Linked DNA regions of Homo sapiens: region 2 is linked to region 1. The links are contacts of gene promoters, found by promoter capture Hi-C in blood cells and fetal thymus (Javierre and others, 2016). All regions are on one chromosome and are shown on one strand. Each heading gives the region's core, a stretch centred on a gene start or on the middle of the fragment in contact. The rest is flanking DNA. Distances are from core to core; before and after follow the strand shown. Region 1 holds the start of SLC16A12-AS1 (SLC16A12 antisense RNA 1). Region 2 has its middle 19 kb from the start of MIR107.

Region 1 (2,866 bases), core at 100-2,599:
GCCTTCACTTTTTTTTTTCTTTTCTAGCATGCTCTCCCAACCTCCCACATTCTTTAGTCTCAAGATAACCTTCCTCCAGGAAGGTTTCCCTGACCACTCAAGTCTCTCTTGATTCCACTCTTACGTGTTTCAACTACATGCTGGACATTTATCACACTGTGTGGCAATTTCCTTTGCATTTGTTTATATTCTTCACTAGACTGTTACCCTGTGACAGAAAAGACCATGTCTGTCTTATCTCACACTGAATCCCAAATATCTAGTATAGTACCTGTCATATACTTGGTGTTCATAAAACACTTTTCAAGGGAAGCAAGCCAGGAAGGAAGGAAAGGAGGAAGGATTAAAGTTGGTAGAGGAAGTGACTAGAAGACAAGGAAGTGAAAATGATTGAGTAGCAACTTCAAGAACTATGAATGAGAAAGGGAAGAAGGAGGAAGACTGGATGGTAGCTATATAGGAACATGTGGTTAGGTGAGGTAAAGTAGGGATGTGAAGAAAATGAGTGTTACAAGCTGAGAAAACAAATCCACAAGAGGGAGATGCAGAAGCTGGAGATGTAAGAGGATCACATGATGTCTAAGAGAAAAGGGCCCCCAGATGATGATATTTTCAAATTATAAATAATAATCTCTTTTTTTCACTAAATTGTTTTGGGGAACTTAGTAGTGTAACCATGTCTGTCCCTTGTCACTTTTTTTAAAGGTTACTTTGATTTCTGCTTGCTGGTTTTCTTAGATGACTTAATCAGTCATATGAATCAAACTTTAGATATACAGAAATCAAAATTAATACCTGAAATTCTTGTCTAAACATGTAAGCAGGCTTAACAAAGGCAAACTTTCTAATAACCACATACAGGCTTCTGAATGATTGTGACTTTCATGAAATATGGGAAGAATATTTTATCACTTATCTGTTCTCAAAGGGGAAAAGCACCACAGAACTTTTTGAGTAGTAGTTTCATGATGTATGCCTCTGAACACAGGCATGATATTAAATAAATGAAATTTTATTGGGAGCATGTGTGCATCTCACTCCAGAAATTATTTTTATTATTTTGGTTGTTCTTTGGAATATTTTACAGTGAAGCAGGGTCCTGATCCCTGGTTCTCACCCTAGGTAACTGAGGTTTTTGATAAAGCTTCTTAATCCCTCAGGGCCTCAGTTTCTTTATCTCTAAAATTAGCATTTTGGTAAACATGACTGCATCAGTCAGAATGGGCTGGATTATGCTGCAGTAGCAAACAACTCCTAACAACTTTCAGTGTTCATAGGCTCTGTTCATAAGAATGTGGAAACAAAGTATCACCAAGTGTCATCTGTGACGAAATGACATTCTCAAAAATACCTTCTCTCAGAGGCCAGTATGACTGCTGTCTCAATCTTGCCACTCTGCTGTAAAATTTTTCTCTGTCTCCTATACAGTGAGTGCTGCCAACATCTGGCATACTAGAATTGATCTACTGGGCACTGCAGCCTAGTGGCTAAAAGTCCTGCCACTTACTAACCATGGGACCTTGGACATGTTCTTCAACTGCTGTGTGTTATGAGGATTAAATGATTTAATCCATAAAAAATGCTTGAAGAATGCCAACATGCACAATGTAAGTGCTCAGTTAAAGTTAGCAATTATTATAAGAATTCAACTATTGTTAAGAGAGTTCAAAAGAACTCTACAATCCCATAGGATTCTAGACATATATTGCACCTAAGTTAATTTGGACCCAGTAGACTTAGAGAAAAATAGGTCTCAGACCTGGAGGGGGACAGGGTTTTGGACATTTAAATCAAACATTGCTTTTTAAGTATCAACCCAACTCAAGTGGCCAATTTATGAACAGAATAGCCTGCAATTACACATGAAGTATGATTCTTTTTTTTTCATTTTTTAAAATTTTATTTTATTTTACTTTAAGTTCTAGGTTACTTGTGCAGGATGTGCTGGTTTGTTACATAGATAAACGTGTGCCATGGTGGTTTGCTGCACCTATCAACCCATCACCTAAGTATTAAGCCCAGCATGCATTAGCTATTTTTCCTGATGCTCTCCCTCTTCCCACTCCCCCACCCCGACAGGCCCCAGTGTGTGTTGCTCCCCTCCCTGTGTCCATGTGTTCTCATTGTTCAGCTTCCACTTATGATTGAGAACACAGAGTGTTTGGTTTTCTGTTCCTGTGTTAGCTTCCTGAGGTTAATGGCTTCCAGCTCCATTCATGTCCCTGCAAAGGACATGATCTTATTCCTTTTTATGGCTGCATAGTATATACATAGTGGTATATATGTACCACATTTTCTTTATCCAGTCTATCACTGATGGGCATTTGGGTTGATTCCATGTCTTTGCTATTGTGAATAGGGCAGCACTGAACATACGTGTGCATATATCTTTATATTATAATAGAATGATTTATATTCCTTTGGGTATATACCCCGTAATGGGATTGCTGGGTCAAATGGTATTTCTATGCAAAAATTGACAAATAGGATCTAATTAAACTAAAGAGCTTCTGCACAGCAAAAGAAACTATCATCAGAGTGAACAGACAACCTACAGAATGGGAAAAAATTTTTGCAACCTATCCATCTGACAAAGGTCTAATATCCAGAATCTACAAGGAACTTAAACAAACTTACAAGAAAAAAAACAAACAACCCCATTAAAAAGTGGGCAAAGGACATGAACAGATGCTTCTGAAAAGAAGACATTTATGCAACCAACAAACATATGAAAAAAGCTCAACATCACTGATCATTAGAAAAATGCAAATCAAAACCCCAATGAGATACAATCTCACACCAGTCAGAATGGTGATTATTAAAAAGTCAAGAAACAACAGATGCTAGCAGGGCTGCAGAGAGATAG
Region 2 (2,700 bases), core at 62-2,561, 120 kb after region 1:
TATTAACTAACTGAATAGCAGTAGGAGGAAGGCACTTGAGCTAGAACTTCAGACCAGCCAATGTGCAATTTTAAGCCTGAGTATGCAGAAATTTCAATAATATGACTGATAAAGGTGATAGATACACATTCAGACATTGCCTCTATACACAATCCCTTTTAGAAAATGGAAGCAAATCTCTGGATCATTTAGTCCCAAAAAAGCCTTGATTTTTCCCAGAAAGCCACTTCAGGATTCTTGACGATTTGTTCATGGCATGCTCTTGGCATGTTCCTTTGCCTCTTCAAGCTTCAGTCTTTTCTCCAGTAAAATGAAGATAAGAATCCCCACGTTATTCATCATCTGAGTGGATTAATGGAGATTAGGTACAGGGAGTGCCAAGCATATGAAAGGCTTAATCCATCAGAGCTGTCATTATTGTTGTGGACTCTCTTTCCTGGAAACATCTTTTATTCCCACATGGTAGCTTTTTTTTTGTTCTGTTTTGTTTTGTTTTTGTTTGTTTGCTTGTTTGTTTTTGAGACAGAGTCTCGCTCTGTCGCCCAGGCTGGAGTGCAGTGGCACAATCTTGGCTCACTGCAAGCTCTGCCTCCTGGCCTCACGCCATTCTCCTGCCTCAGCCTTGCAAGGAGCTGGGACTATAGGCACCTGCCACCACGCCTGGCTAATTTTTTTGTGTTTTCAGTAGAGACGGGGTTTCACCGTGTTAGCCAGCCTGGTCTGAATCTCCTGACCTCGTGATCCGCCCACCTCAGCCTCCCAAAGTGCTGGGATTACAGGCGTGAGTCACTGCGCCGGGACCCCATATGGTAGCTTTGTAAAGGGCAGGGTCAAGGCCCAGTTCTCACACTCACAGAAGCTCTGGGTTGGGAAGGATATTAAAGGTCACTTCTGGTCCAAGCTCTACCTCTCCATCCAGTGCCAGGTCAGAACTTGTGAAAGTTCAATGCAGGTTAATAATTTGGCACCTTTTTTACTGATATTCTCCAAATAGTTGTTCAACATTTATTTAGAAGTTTAAAAATTAGAATAATAGCAAAAAGTGTAATTTTCACTTCTCAAACTTGGTAGGTTTATTTTGGGAGTGGCCTTGAACCTATTTTGCAACTACTCCTTAGTAATTAAAATGAACTTCTCCTGAGTTGAAATGCAAGATGCAGTTAATGCTTCCAAAGTCTCTTCTGCAGGACTGGATCAATGAATAAAAACTGACACTAAAACATAAGTAGCAATTATTCAATAATTAATACTAATGAATTACTAAATCTCTACATCTTAAAAGTTTGAATACCAGTGTATTTAGAATTTGTTTGGCTTCCAAAAACTATGCATGCCATGGTGTTTTATTTTAAAACTTCAAATCCTAACACTATATACCTTTTTTAAAGTGTTAATTTCTCATTTCTTTTTCTTTTTTTTCTTTTTTCTGAGACGGAGTCTTGCTCTGTCACCCAGGCTGGAGTGCAGTGGTGCGATCTCAGCTCACTGCTCCTGGGTTCACGCCATTCTCCTGTCTCAGCCTCCTGAGTAGCTGGGACTACAGGCACCCGCCACCACACCTGGCTAATTTTTTTTTGTATTTTTAGTTAGAGATGGGGTTTCACCGTGTTAGCCAGGATGGTCTCAATCTCCCGACCTCGTGATCCTCCCGCCTCGGCCTCCCAAAGTGCTGGGATTACAGGCGTGAGCCACCGCGCCAGGCAGTTAATTTCTAAGTGTGGCTATATCTTCATAAAATCTCTCTCTATGGCCATTAAAATGGATTATGCCATAGATGAAATGGTCCTTAACATTCCATGGACAAAGACCCCTACAGCTTGATTTTGCTGAGATAATCTTCATAGTTAATTAAGGACCACAGAAGACTACCATGAGCAGCTGAGGTCAGACAGGGACTGTAGAAACACAGGCTAAAGGACACGAAGAATTGTGTAATTGACTAAATGTTCAGGGCACAGCCAACAAAACTCAATTGTTCTGGACAACCACACCATTTTCTCTAGAGTTGCTGAAAGTTGTGTGGGTGGGATCTACAGATAATTGCCCCACTTCTCCATTTCATTTTGCCTGTCTAAACATTGTATAAATAACTACTTGATAAATTCAATGTTGATGTTGGCACATGAACAGACAGACAGAAAAGTGACTGCTCATTTTAAAATGTATAAAGCCAATATAAATAGTAAACAAATCTCAAAGGAGAATGCCTAAAAATGTTTAAAATTCACAATAATGTTTAATTTACCAAATTTCAACCCACTTATGGAGCTTAATTCAAAAATACTTTTGGCTTATATTTAAAATAAAGTGACATTTGACAAACTGTTCAAATATTAAGCTTAAAAATGTACTCTTCCTAAATAATAATTTTAATACAAACTCTAGATCCACAACTTGCAGGATTAACTATCTCTTCCCCAATATGCCAAAAACACGTACACATCCAAATATGCATAGAGAATATGAATGCTAGAAAAGTTTAAGAATATATCATGAAAATATATTTCATATGTCAGGATAAATAAGCTTGAGTAGTTAATGAAAAATAATTATTTTAAAGTTTAAGTTGTCTTTAAAATTAAATTTTACATATATTTTCAAGATATATGAGAAGACATACACCACCTACCTCACTATGGAATGTGGTAAAACAAACATAATTTATATCTGTGTCATGGCAGCCAAATGGCATAAATTCTT

The links. Contacts are between HindIII fragments. The CHiCAGO score rates a contact against its expected background, and 5 or more counts as called.
Region 2: a fragment that was not itself captured here is called in contact with the fragment with the promoter of SLC16A12-AS1 in region 1 in 1 of 17 cell types (M0 macrophages); the score reaches 5.4 in M0 macrophages.

What each region holds. Positions count from the first base shown.
Region 1 is chr10:89,454,642-89,457,507 of GRCh38, forward strand. It overlaps SLC16A12-AS1 (SLC16A12 antisense RNA 1), which reads left to right and starts at 1,350. Exons shown (of 3, transcript NR_120614.1): 1 at 1,350-1,607. The region is part of intron 3 of SLC16A12 (solute carrier family 16 member 12); the gene reads right to left. The HindIII fragment of the contact is 4,427 bases long and covers 1,143-2,866 here.
Region 2 is chr10:89,572,565-89,575,264 of GRCh38, forward strand. No RefSeq gene overlaps it. Among named protein-coding and RNA genes, the nearest start is that of MIR107, 19 kb to the right of the region's middle. The HindIII fragment of the contact is 2,050 bases long and covers 287-2,336 here.